Regions from separate parts of the Homo sapiens genome. Here regions 1 and 2 are each linked to region 3. The links are contacts of gene promoters, found by promoter capture Hi-C in blood cells and fetal thymus (Javierre and others, 2016). All regions are on one chromosome and are shown on one strand. Each heading gives the region's core, a stretch centred on a gene start or on the middle of the fragment in contact. The rest is flanking DNA. Distances are from core to core; before and after follow the strand shown.

Region 1 (3,203 bases), core at 696-3,195, 660 kb after region 3:
TCTACTAAGAAAGAACTCTCAATAGTATAATGGACATCTCTGGGAAAATATCACTTGATAGATGGCTAATTTTTAAAGGAACATTGATTCCACAAAAGAGACTCACAGTTGCTTATGTACATTAAAACAAAATAGTAACATAATGGCTACATTTGGTGAGCACACACTATGTATTTTACACATATTCTCTTATTTAATCTTCAAAATAAACTTCTGAAGTGAGTACCAATCACCTCAAGAAAACTGAGGCAAAGTTCTATAAAACCTGCTCAAAGTAACACAGCCAGTAAGTGAGGTAGCCAGAACTTGATCCAGTTCTTCTGGAGCTCAAGGCAAATCCACCATGTCACACAGTCTTCCTCCCCTGCCTCATTCCTGCTCAAAAAACTGGAAGAGAACATTAGTTGCCACACGCATGGTGTCCCCAAGAGAGCCTGTGCTTCCCACAACCCTAGTTATTGGCAAAACCCTCATGAAGCCATGTCCCTCTCCTACCAGAACTGACTGGATAAGGGCTGTGCAGCCAATCCAGAAACCAGAGATGACCTTTGCGTGACCTCACTGGACATTGGAGCGATACAATTCGACTTCCTCTCTGAGAACAGGAGTTAGGCTACCTGGCAGCAGCCAGGAGCTGGGAGCTCACAGTGTGCACAGAGTGGGGCCTGAGGTCACCCAGGCACAGAAACTGTGAGGCAGCAAGCTTCAGAGCAGAGGAAGGGCAGAGGCAGGACACAAAAGCACAGCCTCTGTGGGTGGCCCAGTCCCATTAATGCCAAAGCATGAGAGTAACAATCCCACAGGACCCTGCTTCTGGGGTCCCAGAGATGCCTTTTCTGTCCCAAGATGCCATCTTGTGATTAGTGACTGTGGCCAACTGTTATCACTCCTCCCCATCCCAGACAGCCATCCCCTTCCTCTGTAGTAAAAAACTCATAACATGTCTAGTATGGCAAAGAGCCCAATTAATGAACTTCACTTCTTGACCATCTGGTATTTGGAGGCGGAGAGCCAATTAATTGTGTTTCGGCACAATTCAGCAATGATTTACTATTTCTGATCATTTCTATAAGTTGACAGGGCTCAACTGGGTGGTTCTTGCATCCCACATGGTATCAAGTGGAGTTTGACTGGGACTGGTACACTCAAGATGGCTTCATACACGTGACTTATGCCTCAACTGGGGTACTTGGAATAGCTGGGGACTGGCTAGGCCTCTCTTCACATAGTTGTTCATTATTCAATAGTTTACTCTGGGCCAGCTGTGGTGGCTCACACCTGTAATCCCAGCACTTTGGGAGGCCGAGGTGGGTGGATCACTTGAGCCAAGGAGTTCAAGACCAACCTGGGCAAAATGGCGAAACCCTGTCTCTACAAAAAATTAGCTGAGTATGGTAAAGTGCACCTGTAGTCCCAGCTACTATCGAAGCTGAGGTGGGAGGATCACCTGAGCCTGGGAGGTTGAGGCTGCAGTAAGCTGTGTTCACACCATTGTATTCCAGATATATATATATATATATTCTAGTCTAAGCTTCTTTACATGGCAGCTGGATCCCAAGAGGGTAAACAGAAGCAGCAAAGCCTAGCAAGGCCTTCCAATACATTCTATTGGTCAAAGCAAGTCATAGGGCCAGCCCTGACTAAAGGAGAAGAGAAACAGACTATACCTCTTGACAGGAAAAAATGACTTAAGCCTACAAAAATTATTGGCAGCCATCTTTGCAGACATTCTACCACAAAATTTAAATGGAAGTTGTTAAATTGTATTCAGCTACCTTCTCCCTTTCTTCCTACTTCCTGCCTAGAACATGAGTGTCATGACTAGAACTTCAGCAGTCATCTTGCAACCACCAGGCAGCCTGAAAGATGAGAACTACACACTGAGGATAGCAGAGAAGAAAGAGAGGAGTCCAGGTTCCTGATGAGCTAGGGGAGCTGCCACACCCACCAAGGACTGCCTATTTACAGAGTGTTTACACATTGGAAAAAATATAAAGCTCTACCTTACTTACATAATGATTATTTGGTTTGTCCATCATACAAAACACAGTGGGCACAGGCTAAAATGTGAACAACTAACAGAAGGAATTTCATAGCCCATAATGCAACATTTGCTGATGCGTTGTATTTTTTAAGAATATAACGAGAAGCACATACTCTGATTAAATTGCTAAGTTCCATTACAGTCTTATAAAATATATTACAGCAAGCCTCAAGCTAAAGGCTTATTGGCAAGTACCTTGCCTCTGAGGTACAAGGAATCCGTTCCTGGGGGCTTATGAGAAAATGTTAGGGGGCTCCTTAATAATTCTGTACAAACACTGCTTGAGAAAATACTATTAATGCCTTTCCGCCAAAACTAAGCTTGAGTACTTTTTCTAAACTCCTCACCGTTTAAGAAGAAATAGCATGCAAAGTTCAAATGAGGTCATCATATCCACCCCCTCCTGCCTCCCACCTAGTTTTTTCATTCAGCAATCAATCCCTCCCCAACAATTGAGGTTCAGTTGCTGTGTCTGATTCATGGAAGAATAACCTGTCTTTTCCTCCCCCTTCCAAATTTTTTAAAACACCAAGCAGTATAGGCAAGTTTTTGTTTGTTTGGCTGGTTGGTTGGGTTTTTTTTGAGACGGAGTTTGGCTCTTGTCACCCAGGCTGGAGTGCAACTGCACGATCTCGACTCACTGCAACCTCTGCCTCCCGGGTTCAAGTGATTCTCCTACCTCAGCCTCCCAAGTAGATGGGATTACAGGTATGTGCCACCACGCCCAGTTAATTTTTGTATTTTTAGTAGAGACGGGGTTTCACCATGTTGGCCAGGATGGTCTCAATCTCTTGACCTCGTGATCCACCCGCCTCGGGCTCCCAAAGCGCTGGGATTACAGGCATAAGCCACCGCGCCCGGCCGGCAAGTTTTAAACCACAAGAATAAGATGTCTTTTCACAGGTGTGCAGAGAAGGACCCCAGAACTGGGTAAATTGAGAAGTGGGACACACAGGTTTTGCAGGCCTGACTCGGACACACAGGTGTGAGCCTGCAACAACAAACAGCTCCTCAACCCTCAAGTACAAGAACAGGGGAAAGAGTGGCATTCTATATTTTTTTGAAAACTAGCTGAACTTGGTCTGCTCTTATTTTACCATTTTCATGTATGGTTTTGCAAATGTTTTACTTGACTTTAGCCTATATTTCAAATTATCGG
Region 2 (3,125 bases), core at 132-2,631, 740 kb after region 3:
CATCTGAAATGAAAGAACATTTAAGTATTAATGAAAGAATACATTTTAATGAAGAGATCAAGGTAAGAGATCAGGATTCTACACTTACACAGAGCTTGTTTAAGTTGTTCTAATACATCATTTTCATAAACAGACCTTTCTTCCCAAATAGATAACACTCTTCCAAGGTGCTTCTTACAACTTTCATCAGTTTCACTAAAAAAAAAAAAAAAGAAAAAAAGAAAAATGTTAACAGTAACAATGCATAGTGTTATTGAAAAGGTTAACGGTAACTTTAAATATAATCAGACATTCATTCCCTGGAAAAAACTGTCCAAATGTCTACTTAGCATCACTATGTGGCCAGCAGCTCAAAAGTGAAGTGATCTAGACACACTGCTTGCTTCTAGTAAACATTTTATAAACATATTATTACACAACCAAAAAAAGTTTAAACTGTAAAAGTTTTAGTACTGGCTGCTAGGGATTTCCTATCCTAATGGGGCCTGGACATGGGGCTAAGGAAGATTTCTCATAGGTTATTTTTTTAAATTTATTCAACAAATACTTATTGATCCAGTTACTATCTTTGACATGGAGATGCAAATGCAGCTTATGGCAGTTGTTATTTATAAGTATCACAAAAGAGAACAAAGTGCTTAAGACAGACCTGGCCCTGTTTAAGAGATATCCGGAAGAGTATTTAAGGAAATGATATTTAATTTGAGATCTTAAGACTAGACATATGGGGAAATGAAAAACAGACTACTCCCAACTGTTTCCTACCTCCTTCATTGCTATCACTGTAGACAGAAACACTACTATCTCTTGCTTAGAATTTTGTAAAGTCTTCTCACGCTCTCCCAGCCTCTACTCTTTTACTCTATTCTGTACAAAGCATCCTAATAATGTAAATCAGATTATACAGCTCTTGATCCTCCAAGAGCTACCAATCACATCAAGAATAAAACCAAAATCCTTACTCTGGGCCATAAGGCCCACATGCTCTGCTTTCTGGCAGTCCCTCAGTACACACTCCCTAATACCTAGTACCATACAAATCTCCTTGCTAAGGTCCTCAAACATGTCCAGCATATAAGCTATCTCATTTTTTCGGCCACATATTCTCTCTACCTAGAATCCTTTCTGCCTAGTCAAATGGCTCATTTCACCCCTTCCTTTAGTCTTTGTTCAAATGCCACCTTCCCCAAATAGTTGTTCTTTATCTCATCACATAACTGAGCGCCCTCATACTATCTAGTTCCTTCCCTGCTTTGTATTTCTTGCTAGCATTTGTCATCTGACATTATGCATTCACTTGTCTATCTACTTATTAACTTTGTCATCCAATGAAATGTAGGCTCCAGTAGAACAAAACTGTCTTGGTCACTACTACTCAGGGTTTTGCATATAATAAATATTTATGCAGCCAATAAATATTTTACTGAATTCTAGGGAGGGGCAACATATATAGAAGACTTAAGGCGGAAAGAACTAAAAAAGGTTAATTTAGCTTAAACTGTAGACTATAGACTGTGTGGAATAAATGCGAGACAGAGGTCTGGGGAGATAGGCAGTGCCACGAAGGAACACCTTAAGTCTTGCTCAGGACTTTAGACTTCATCTCTAAAACAAATGGGAACCACTCAAAGGCAAGGAAGTATTATGACCAGCTCTGCAACTCTGTCGAGTTTTCTAAAGAAATTAAACAATACTAAAGGGCATTAAAATTATACTGAAAATACATTATGGTAACTAAAAGGGAAAGAAATCCAAAGAACCGAGTCAATGTGTACTATGTGAGATATGGGGACTGAAGGAGAAAGAAGAGTTTAAAGGTAACATAATTTCTTGCATAGGCACCTGGATAGATCGAGTTGCCATTCACAGAGTATAAAACCTACAGGAGGGACAAGTACGGTGGGAAGCAAGGACATAATGAGTTCTGTATCAGACACAGTGAGTCTGAAATGTTTGAGACGCATACAAGTAAAAATGTCAAAAGGCAATTGGGCACACAGGTTTGGAACAAAAAAAAATCTGGACTGGAGCATAAAACTGTAAGTCATTACGGTGTGGAGAATAACCAAATACATGCGATGTACAAAATTACCCAGAGGGCAAGTAAAGAATGGAAACAGGCCAGACATGGTGGCTCACGTTTGTAATCCCAGCACTTTGGGAGGCCGAGGCAGGTGGATCACGAGGTCAGGAGTTCAAGACCAGCCTGGCCAAGATGGTGAAACCTTGTCTCTACTAAAAACACAAAAATTAGCCAGGCATGGTGGCAGGCACCTGTAATTCCAGCTACTTGCGAGGCTGAAGTAGGAGAATCGCTTGAACCCAAGCGGCAGAGGTTGCAGTGAGCCAAGATCGCACCACTGTACTCCAGCCTGGGTGAGAGTGAGACTCTGTCTCAAAAAAAAAAAAAAAAAAAAAAAAAAGAATAGAAACAGTACTAAGTGTATATGGAAATATTTGTTACAAGACTGATAGCTTTATAAACACACAAATTTTTACTTCAATACCTTCATTCATTTTTAATGAAGTTCATTCCAATATAGCAGTTGGTTCTGGTCTCTTAAAGGAAAGCTGTAATTCAAGTACTCCAAAGGCCCACCTTAGCAACAGTTCAAAAAATATTTTTCCTTCAGAGAAGGCATTTAATACATTTATAAATGCCATGTAGAGGGAAGTCTTTTCAAATAAAAGCATCAAAAAACTATATTCCCTACTTTTTATTTTAATAGTTTAAGGCAAATTTTAGCAAAAGGACATATGGTACATTTAAAACAGATTACCTAATACCCAAAACTATGATCATACCTTGAAACATGCTTAAAAGCCTCCACTATAACTGGTGCAAAATCTTTTGTAAACTCTGGCCCCTTCCTCTTGCTGTTCTGTATGACATCATTGGCTAGGTAGAGAAAAGTAAGCTTCCTGTTTGGTTTGGCTGAAAAATAAGAAAAAGTTAAAAATCTACTTAAAACATCTTTACTTGGACAAACTTTCTCAATACCTAAATTAAGCATTTTGAGAACTAAAATAACCCTACTAACCTTTATGTATCATTTCAACCCTAGTCTCTCATTTTACTACCAAACTAACCAGTCACTGCTGCTAAAATCGCCAGAACTAATGTC
Region 3 (2,983 bases), core at 122-2,621:
TGCAGTGATAGTTCCACAGCTGTATTCATTTAACAAGCCTTATCAAATTATATCCTTTAAATATTTGCTGTTTATGTCAGTTATACCTCAATAAAGCTGTTTTGTTTTGTTTTGTTTTGTTTTGTTTTGAGACAAAGTCTCGCTTTGTCACCCAGGCTGGAGTGCAGTGGCGCAATCTCGGCTCACTGCAACCTCCGCCTCCTGGGTTCATGGGTTCACGCGATTCTCCTGACTCGGCCTCCCAAGTAGCTGGGATTAAAGGCGCACACCACCATGCCCAGCTAATTTTTGTATTTGTAGTAGAGACAGGGTTTCACCTTGTTGGCCAGGCTGGTCTCCAACTCCTGATCTCAGGTGATCCACCTGCCTCAACCTCCCAAAGTTTTAGGATTACAGGCCTAAGCTGCGCCTGGCCAAAAAGAAAGCTGTTTTTTTAAAACTATCTGCACTCCCTACTTGGGAGGGTTGGACTCAAGTTCCCACATCTCTTTCCTCTTACGGTTATATTAAGGGCTTAGTCATACATCCCTAAATTTCATATATCCCAACAGGGACTTGGGCTGGGACAGGAAGCCCTCTTCCTCCACCTCAACTACCACTTAGCCACCCACCATTTTCTCAAACCTCTTCCTTTCCCCACCGGACAGCTTAAACCAAGTCACACGTCTCATTGGTCTCAACAGAAATGAGGTCCCAACTCCTCATTTCCCAAGATATTTCCATGAACACAGCAATATCCTTTCCTACCCTGATTACCCCGCACCCTCCATTTCGGGTCCTTCTCACCCTGATCAGTGAGAATTGTTCTAGCAAGCAAACCTTAAATAGACCTCGTACCCTTTCTAGATTGCAAAGTAGATAAAAATCCAACTTTCCGTTAATTCAGGGATTAATTACTGAGCATCACTTATTTCTTGGGCAGTGGTTCTCAAAATGTGGTCCCAGGACCAACAGCTTCAGGATCACCTGAGAACCTGGGCTGCCACCGCCCCCTCCCCCACTACTAAATCAGCAACTCCGGAGTTGTGGGGCAGAAGTCAGTATTTTAACAAGGCCTCCAGGTGATTCTGATGCGCGCTACTCTTCTGGGGGTGTGAAAAACCAGAGAGGACAGGAAGAAAGTTAGAATTAAAGCATACCTACGAATCAGATAAGCGATAGGGGGAGGGGTGGTTATTTAAAAAACGATAACTAATTAAGAACTTGTATGTAGTAAGAAAACCTACCCTGCCCCAGAGAGCTTTCCCGAAAGATAATGGATTCCGACATTCACCTCAAGAACCGGCAGACAGAGCAGCAAAGGATCTGTCGCTGGCCAAGCAGGTCCCTGGCTAAGGCACTGCTAGGGACAGCTCGCGGCGGTTCGGGGGTTAATTCTCGGCAGCCCTCCGTCACCCGGTGCCCCACCCCCGCCCTGCGCCTGCGCGGTGAAGCGCCATAGAGCTGAGCACTCCTCCCAGATTCCTAGAGCGGACAGGGCGATGGCAGGTTCGCCGGGTGTGAGGCTTCACAGCGGTCCGGTGACCAAGTCGAGGTAAGGGTGATGTCGGCTCGCGGATAGCAGAGGAGTTCCGGGTGATCTTGCCTAACGAGCAGGAAACTGTGCATGGTTTCTCGAGTCCTTGGAGAGTGAAGGCCCCCGGGGTCGCTCCCGGGCACGGAGAGACGATTGGTTCACGGCCTAGTGTTCGGTTTGTTCCCAGTCAGCCCTTGCTGGCCTTGGGTTCAACCGAATGAACGCCAGAAACTCTGTGGGGTGGGGGGAGTCACCAACCGTGGTGCATCCATACGAATCAGCCTACCGTACTGGGAAAGAGCCACCTGAATTTGTGAATGTTGTAAAAGCAAAAGGAAGAAAAATGATCAGTAGTGTCATTTTTGGATAGGAAGGGCAGCGAATAACATAGTGTTAACCACTAGAATTCACTGTAAAATTCCCCTCTCTGCGTTATCTTTCCAGTTATACCTTTTTTTGGTAGCATTAACCCCTAATTTTGTTTGAACATCTCTAGACTTGGAATGGGGAATGTGTGTCTTAAGTGGGTTAATCCCTGGCTCTTGGATGATGGGGAGGAAGCCTAATACATTCTGAGAGAAAAGCAACTGGAAGTCAAATGAGATTTTTTGTTTTCTCCTTCTTTTATATCTTGAGGATTTTTCTGGTGGTCTAGTCTCAGAGATTACATCTGTAGTCAGCACAATGATTCCCTTCCAAGCCCAGTGGTGCCCAGTTGCCTCCAGGTCCCAGACCTTTATGTGGACAAGAAAAGCTTACAGAGGAAATGGTAATTCTCCACTTGCACACTGAGGTGTCCAGTTGCAGCCCATGGAGATCCAGTTCAATTATGAATCTCAGGAACACCACCTTCTGTCAGGTGAGAGGCAGGGTATTATATCTTTCTTAGTGGCTTTGGCGGGGTGGGGAGGATGAGGGGGTGTCACTCTATGCTAGTGTCTTCAAATGATCCCCCTTAACTCTGTTAGGCAGTATTACCTCTTTAGTGTACCAAGCATAGTCACATGACTTTATTTCAAAATCTGGCGATCAAATTCTCATGCAGCTCTCTCCACTTTTTTAAGACCCCAAAGTCATTCATTTTTCCCTGTATAATGACCTCATTGCTAATCTGTCAGTTTTGGTCATTTTTCTTATCTACTGTAGGGGCATAGTTAAAAGTTCTGGAGTCTGACAACCTAGATTCAAACAGTAGTTTTGTCACTTAACTGGCTCCAGTAAGTTACTCATATATTTTACGATTCTGTTTCCTCACTTTTCAAGTGCATAGTACTTCATACCTTGAAGTTATTTTGAGATTTGTATCTATGTATTACTCCAGAATAAAGAACCCCAAAATTTAGTGACCTAAAACATCAGACTTCTTAAACCACATTATTTCTTATGATTCTGTAGGTCATCAACTTGAGCTGGGTTCACCTGGGCATTTTTTTTTCTCTTGGTCTTTTCTGGGGTCATTTTGCAGTC

What was found. The method cuts DNA at HindIII sites, captures the fragments that hold promoters and counts their contacts. A CHiCAGO score of 5 or more calls a contact.
Region 1: a contact is called between a fragment that was not itself captured here and the fragment with the promoter of ZSCAN30 in region 3, in 1 of 17 cell types (naive CD4 T cells). The highest score is 5.4, in naive CD4 T cells.
Region 2: a contact is called between a fragment that was not itself captured here and the fragment with the promoter of ZSCAN30 in region 3, in 1 of 17 cell types (total CD4 T cells). The highest score is 5.8, in total CD4 T cells.

What each region holds. Positions count from the first base shown.
Region 1 is chr18:35,945,816-35,949,018 of GRCh38, forward strand. No RefSeq gene overlaps it. Among named protein-coding and RNA genes, the nearest start is that of MIR3929, 13 kb to the left of the region's middle. The HindIII fragment of the contact is 833 bases long and covers 1,530-2,362 here.
Region 2 is chr18:36,030,903-36,034,027 of GRCh38, forward strand. It overlaps RPRD1A (regulation of nuclear pre-mRNA domain containing 1A), which reads right to left. Exons shown (of 7, transcript NM_018170.5): 2 at 2,806-2,935; 3 at 89-195; 4 at 1-3. Among named protein-coding and RNA genes, the nearest start is that of RPRD1A, 35 kb to the right of the region's middle. The HindIII fragment of the contact is 3,070 bases long and covers 1-2,916 here.
Region 3 is chr18:35,288,858-35,291,840 of GRCh38, forward strand. It overlaps ZSCAN30 (zinc finger and SCAN domain containing 30), which reads right to left and starts at 1,372. Exons shown (of 4, transcript NM_001112734.4): 1 at 1,227-1,372. It also overlaps the pseudogene ZNF271P. RefSeq lists an enhancer at 1,489-1,648. The HindIII fragment of the contact is 2,453 bases long and covers 1-2,268 here.